Linked DNA regions of Homo sapiens: region 2 is linked to region 1. Evidence: promoter capture Hi-C in human tissues and cell types (Jung and others, 2019). All regions are on one chromosome and are shown on one strand. The core of a region is centred on a gene start or on the middle of the fragment in contact, and the rest is flanking DNA. Distances in the headings are between cores, read along the strand shown.

Region 1 (3,550 bases), core at 713-3,212:
GCTGGAGTGCAGTGGCATGCTCTCAGCTGACTGCAAACTCCACCTCCCAGGTTCAAGCGAGTCTCCTGCCTCAGCCTGCCAAGCAGTTGGGATTAAGGGTGCCCACCACCACACCCGGCTAATTTTTGTATTTTTAGTAGAGACGGGGTTTTGCCACGTTGGCCAGGCTGGTCTCGACCTCCTGACCTCAGGTGATCTGCCCGCCTCACCTTCCCAAAGTGCTGGGATTACAGGCGTGAGCCACCGCACCTGGCCTAAATATTTTATTTAAATAGTTAGAAAATAATACATACCCAAACAAAATAAAGAATAATATTGATGGAGATTTAAATGCAATAAATGAGGATTATATTTATGAAGCATGGGGGTAATAAGTCTGTTCAAGAGACATTCTTAAAAACAATGAATATAATTAGCATATTTCTGTAAGATGTTCCCAAGAAAATGGTAGATATCTATAAATAGAAGAAGGAGAAAAAGGAGAAGTAGATGGAGAGGAGAAGGAGGAGGTGGAGGAGGGTGAGGAGGAGGAGAAAAGTGTTGAAATAATTCCAACTAAGACTGATATCTAGGAATTACCCTGGTGAAGTGGGAAGCTTAAGAGTCCTGTTGGAGGGACTGGTGTGGTAATGGCTCTGCCAAAAGTGTTATGTGCGTGCAAACCCAAAGAGAGAAAGCACAGAAAACCTTTCAACATCAACCTGCTTGAGGAAAAATAAAGTGGGAAAAGATACATACTCACAGTGAGGACTCTAGACATGTCAAGACAATTTTTAAATATGCTTTTGGCTTCGAGTGGCAATAACTAGATTCAAGACAGCATATTTAAGAAGCTGCTGATGAGAAGAAACCCGGGAAGAGCTGAAGGACCACATCAGCCCAGACCAAGGATGCTGAAGCAGCATTAAGGTCCCTGGTTTCAGATGCTCAGGCAATGACCCTTTTTTTCATGGAGAGCCTGTAGGAGTGACAGTTTTGTCTTTGCCCACTGGGAATCTGTTTTCCATACCTGGAAAACAGGGTTACCTATGTTTCCCCTGCTACCCTTTGGTCATCTCAGAGACACTACCAGATATTACCCATGGGACCTATTTTTTTTTTAAATCTCAGGAAAGACTTGGGTGTGGCTTCCAACGTGGAGGACTCAGTAGCTTCAGAGAGGGTCCTGAGAGAAGGTGAATTGAAGAATGAGGGTGCTGGGCAGAGGGAAAAGACATTATCATACAAGTTTGTGCTAAAAGATATAGCAATCCTTCTGCTATGGACTAAGTATGGAAAAAAATAAAATGGAATCAAAGTTACCCAAAGGAAGTGTAAAACCCAAATTTATGCCCGTTAAAGCATTAATGATGCTCTAAGTCCACTGCCTACTTAAAAAGTTCATAGTTCACATGGGTTGATAGGAAATTACGTTAACGACACACTGCATTTCCCCTTTTCTTATAGCCTATCTGATTTGGTAGGGAGTCGATCATTTTTTATTGGAATTTCTCAGGATTCCAACCTCAGACATCCACTTTACAGTTTACACATTTTCTTGGACAAGCCCGACTGTTCCTCTCACTGGTTCGCATAAAGCTCATGTTTACAAAGCCGCCCAGACCTTTCTCTGGGACTCTCATATTTAACTTAATTCTGGATATACCCAGGTAAGCGTTTCCCAAGAAACTTGACCCCAACATCCCAAAAACTTAAGGTATCTTTCCCTTAAACTGGCCCCTTCTCCAGTACGCATCCATCTCACTTCTCTCCTGCCCTAGATCTTCTCAGCCCAAACAGGAAACCCCGGGATCGCTCTCCCAGCAGGTGAAGCCTCGCCATGGACCCTCCCCGTCGGGGCCCCGCGCTGCCCCGCCCGCCCCCAGCCGCTGGCCAAGGCCGCGGTCGCGCAGGCGCAGTGCCGCGTCCCGCCGCCGCCCCGCCCTGCCCGTCGCTGCGGAAGGCGCCGCGCGCAGCAACGCGCACTTCCTCTCCAGGAATCCGCGGAGGGAGCGCAGGCTCGAAGAGCTCCTGGACGCAGAGGCCCTGCCCTTGCCAGACGGCGCAGACATGTCAGAACAAAGTAAGGATCTGAGCGACCCTAACTTTGCAGCCGAGGCCCCCAACTCCGAGGTGCACAGCAGCCCTGGGGTTTCGGAGGGGGTTCCTCCGTCCGCGACCCTGGCAGAGCCGCAGAGCCCTCCTCTAGGCCCGACGGCCGCTCCGCAGGCCGCGCCGCCTCCCCAGGCCCCGAACGACGAGGGCGACCCGAAGGCCCTGCAGCAGGCTGCGGAGGAGGGCCGCGCCCACCAGGCCCCGAGCGCGGCCCAGCCGGGCCCGGCACCGCCAGCCCCGGCGCAGCTGGTGCAGAAGGCGCACGAGCTCATGTGGTACGTGCTGGTCAAGGACCAGAAGAAGATGATCATCTGGTTTCCAGACATGGTGAAAGATGTCATCGGCAGCTACAAGAAGTGGTGCAGGAGCATCCTCCGGCGCACCAGCCTCATCCTCGCCCGGGTGTTCGGGCTGCACCTGAGGCTAACCAGCCTGCACACCATGGAGTTTGCGCTGGTCAAAGCGCTGGAGCCCGAGGAGCTGGACAGGGTGGCGCTGAGCAACCGCATGCCCATGACAGGCCTCCTGCTCATGATCCTGAGCCTCATCTACGTGAAGGGCCGCGGCGCCAGAGAGAGCGCCGTCTGGAACGTGCTGCGCATCCTGGGGCTGCGGCCCTGGAAGAAGCACTCCACCTTCGGGGACGTGCGGAAGCTCATCACTGAGGAGTTCGTCCAAATGAATTACCTGAAGTACCAGCGCGTCCCATACGTGGAGCCGCCCGAATACGAGTTCTTTTGGGGCTCCCGGGCCAGCCGCGAAATCACCAAGATGCAAATCATGGAGTTCCTGGCCAGGGTCTTTAAGAAAGACCCCCAGGCCTGGCCCTCCCGATACAGAGAAGCTCTGGAGGAGGCCAGAGCTCTGCGGGAGGCTAATCCCACTGCCCACTACCCTCGCAGCAGTGTCTCTGAGGACTAGCAAAGTCTGGAGGCAGATGAATGGTTTCTGACCCTCACCAGGGCTGTGGAAGGGTGGGGGTGGGTCATTATAGTATTCAGGATTTACAGTGCAGTATTCACGTGTAACTTTTAAGTTTTCAGTACAGTGCTTTTATACCTTTAATGCAATGTTGTATTCATTTGGGTACTATTGTGTAGTATTTAGGATGTATGCATGTTTGTTTATATGTAAGCTTGGTTGGTGCTTTCGCTTTTGTGCTACCTTTCTTGGATTTTTGTACCAGAGATGTGCTAAACTGATGAAATACATTGAGAAAGTTTCCATCTTATTCTTTTATATGGGACTGATGATGTGTGTTGGGGTAGACTGCTCCTGCAGAGTTTGGAAGAAGTCACCAGCAAAGCCGGCCTAACCAAGAAAAGTCAAGGCCCTTCATGACCTTGCTGGGCACAGAAAACACCCTCGTGGAGTACACTAATTTGAACTGGACTGGTCTCAGTGTGAGCACTTGGCACACTTTACTAAACACATATACAACCCCACCGTGAGTCAA
Region 2 (3,550 bases), core at 460-2,959, 200 kb before region 1:
TGAAAAGATGAAAATAATTGAAAAAGATTTTTTGAAACATTATTATGAATGTATTTTTAAATACAGATATGAAAGGTATTAATATACAATATAAACATACAAATTCAGTTGTAGATAATGTTTATATATGCCCCCCTAAAATATACATAAGTGTTGAAGATATGTGCATGCCAAGACAAACAGCGAGAGCATATATTTCAAAGCAAGGCCTGAGTGGGCATGTGTTTGGGGTCAGCAAGCAAGATGATTGTTGAACAAACTTGATCTTTATGCAAAATAATGGAATTGCCCAATCGACCTCAGAGAGAAGGCAGGGGGCAACTGGTCTTGCTCCTGCAGATCCCACAACAGGCTCTGAGCTCAGATGCACAGGCTGTGGCCCCATCCTTGGCAGATGTGGTCCAGAGAAGGAGCAGGACCAACCATCGGAGCATCTGTGCTTCCAAGGGAGACACGCAGAGGTGTCTGTGTATGTTCCTTCCCTGCTGGCTGCTGCTCTCAGAGTAGAAAGTTCCTAAGGCTCCAGAAAGCAGGGAAGGGAAATGAGGAGGCGAGAGATTGAATGAAATTCAGCGAGAATGTACTAAAAAAAAACAAAGTTGGAAGTGGCATGGGAGGACTGCCTAAGATTCACAAGGGTGTTAAAGACATAAGCAACAGTTAGTAGTGTTGTAAAATTCTAAAATATCCTTATTTGCGGTACAACTGGGAATATCAGTGTAGGTACAGGGCATGGAGGTTTTACTCTTCTTTTTCTTTATGACACCATAACACAGTGTTTAAGAAAATGGGCTTTGAGGGAAAAATTCTTCTGTTAAATGAACTTTCTTAAGAACAAGACAGTGTGGTATGTGCACAGAGATAGAAAAATAAATCAATGAAAAAAATAAGAGAGTTAAAACACACACACACACACACACACACACACACACACACATATGCATATCTAAGCAATTTATAAAGGAGAAAATTGGGAAAAGACTAGTTATCAATACTGTTCCAGGAAATGGAATATCCATACAGGGGAAATAAAATCTGACCTTTGAGCTCATGTTACACACAAAAAGCAATTCCAGGTGGATCACAAACTTCAAATACAAAAACAATTTCCAGTAGTTAGACCCTAACTTAGGAAAATAACTTTATTACCGTGATATTTCTTTTCTTTCTTTTTTTTTTTTTTTGAGATGGAGTCTCGCTGAAGTGCAGTGGCACAATCTCGGCTAGCTGCAACATCTGCCTCCCATGTTCAAGTGATTCTCCTGTCTCAGCCTCCTGAGTAGCTGGGATTACAGGCATGCACCACCATGCCTGGCTACTTTTGGTATTTTTAGTAGAGACGGGGTTTCACCACGTTGGCCAGGCTGGTCTTGAACTCCTGACCTAAGTGATCCGCCCGCCTTGGTCCCCCAAGTGCTGGGATTACAGGCGTGAGCCACCATGCCCGGCCAATATTTCTTAAAGTAAGACCTGAAAGTATGTTTCATGTGAGGAAAAAGGTATGCTACTATTGTTGATGTCAGCAAAGACTCTAGAGATAGGCAGAATAAAGCCTAAGCTTCTTTCATTCCTTTCTTGTGGATCTTTAGGCTCAGCTTCAGAACTGAAACATGAGTGTGATCGTAATCCCTATATCTTGGCATGCTGTGAGGATTACTAATAATACTCAAAGCCTGTGATGAATAGAAGGTATATACTAACTACTAAATTAGTAGTTGATAATACTGACAGCTTTTTCTAAGTAATTGCAATATGTATCATTTGCACCAATTGAATGATGTATCATTACTTTATATATGACACTGGAATAATAAAACTACTTACCGATTATGCCACAGATCATTCTTATCACTTAACATTTTTTCTTATAATTGTTGAAAAAACTTTTCAATCTATATAAATGTAGACATTTGTCTTATATAAATCGTGTGATTACATGAGATGGAAACTATAAGCAGAATACATTAACAAAGTGAATTCTGAAATATCTCCCATGAAAAGATAAAGTTTTCTGAAATAGTTTTTAATTCATCCTCTCCATGATTTGTCCCATACAAACATCATTTGTCCTTATCAGAAGCTGTGATGATGCCACTTTTGTTATGAGGGTCACGTGACAGTCTCCATGAGATTATCTTTCCAAAATACTTACAGCCCCTCTGCAACTTTTGATGTTGATGATCTCACTGGAATGTGTCAATGGAAGGTTTTTAGACCAAGTGCATGTTCACATGAGGCTAATCACATCATGACTGCCTCCTCACAGTGGTGTTTTCATTATCATTTTTGAGATACAACCCTATTTGAGAAATGTGAGTTGTATAATCTGGCTTCAATGAAATACACTATTTTTTCTCTGTGACTCCTTCCTCCTCACTGTAAAATCATGGGGTTTATCTGCTGTATTTTGGTCTATTATTGAGAAACTTTTTTTTTTTTTTGAGATGTAGTCTTGCTCTGTCGCCAGGCTGGAGTGCAGTGGCATGATCTCAGCTCACTGCAACCTCTGCCTCCTGGGTTCAATCAATTCCCCTGCCTCAGCCTCCCAAGTAGCTGTGACTACAGGTGCCCGCCATCACACCCAGCTAATTTTTTGTATTTTAGTAGAGACGGGGTTTCACCATGTTGGCCAGGATGGTCTCCATCTCCTGACCTCCTGATCCGCCCACCTGGGACTCACAAAGTGCTGGGATTACAGGCATGAGCCACCGCACCCAGCCGAGAAAACATTCTTAAATATAGTTTAATATATATTGGCCAACTCCATTTGTCTTCTACTGAGGGATTAGAGATTTTAGAGTTATTAGTAGATTACTGGAACTCTTAAGTACTATAGTAAATTATTATAACTTTATATTGCTCAGGCATCCATTTTGAATAGAGATTTAACTTATTCAAAAAGCAGGGTTTAATCACCTAAGGCAAGGTTGCTAGTTTTTCACCTTCTCCCTGTTCCTTGGTGGGGTCTATCCAGACCCCTTCCACAACCTTCCACAACCACATCCTGGTGATGGCCTCTGTGGGACAGCTAGGTATAACACTTGTCTCACTTGGCTGACCCCTCACAACCCACATTTACTATGCAGTTATGCCTCAGTGACCCCCTCAGTCACAGTGTGCCCCCCAGAGCTCTTACCTACTTGCTCTAAACCCACCACTTAGAACTCCCCAATGGAAGCCTGTATGAGTCATGCGCTGAACCCCAGTAGACGCTTTGGCCCTCTGGTCACTCCCTGTTTCTCTCTCTTGCTCACCTCCAGCTGGCTGCCTGTAATCGTCCCAGATGAATTTTCCCTTCCAGCTGCCCTGGAAGGGAATGCTGCCCTGTTCTCTCTATCTGGAAGTAATAAACGGTTCCTGTGCTTTCATGTGTTCTGTTATTTCCTGTGTGTCTCACTTAACCTAACAACCAAACCTAAACCTAACTTCTTTTTCACTCAGCGTTCTCTTAGAGAATGCCTATCATAGCTGGGCATGGTGGCTCATGCCTGTAATCCTAGCACTTTGGGAGGCCGAGGCGGGCAGATAACTTGAGGTCAGGAGTTCGAGA

What was found. Contacts are between HindIII fragments. The study calls those that stand out against the background at their distance.
Region 2: a contact is called between a fragment that was not itself captured here and the fragment with the promoter of NDN in region 1, in 8 of the 25 tissues and cell types used here (IMR-90 fibroblasts, adrenal gland, dorsolateral prefrontal cortex and 5 more).

What each region holds. Positions count from the first base shown.
Region 1 is chr15:23,685,717-23,689,266 of GRCh38, reverse strand. It overlaps NDN (necdin, MAGE family member), which reads left to right and starts at 1,962. Exons shown (of 1, transcript NM_002487.3): 1 at 1,962-3,550. The coding sequence starts at 2,050. The coding sequence ends at 3,015. The HindIII fragment of the contact is 8,447 bases long and covers 1-3,550 here.
Region 2 is chr15:23,888,980-23,892,529 of GRCh38, reverse strand. No RefSeq gene overlaps it. Among named protein-coding and RNA genes, the nearest start is that of PWRN4, 84 kb to the left of the region's middle. The HindIII fragment of the contact is 6,351 bases long and covers 1-3,550 here.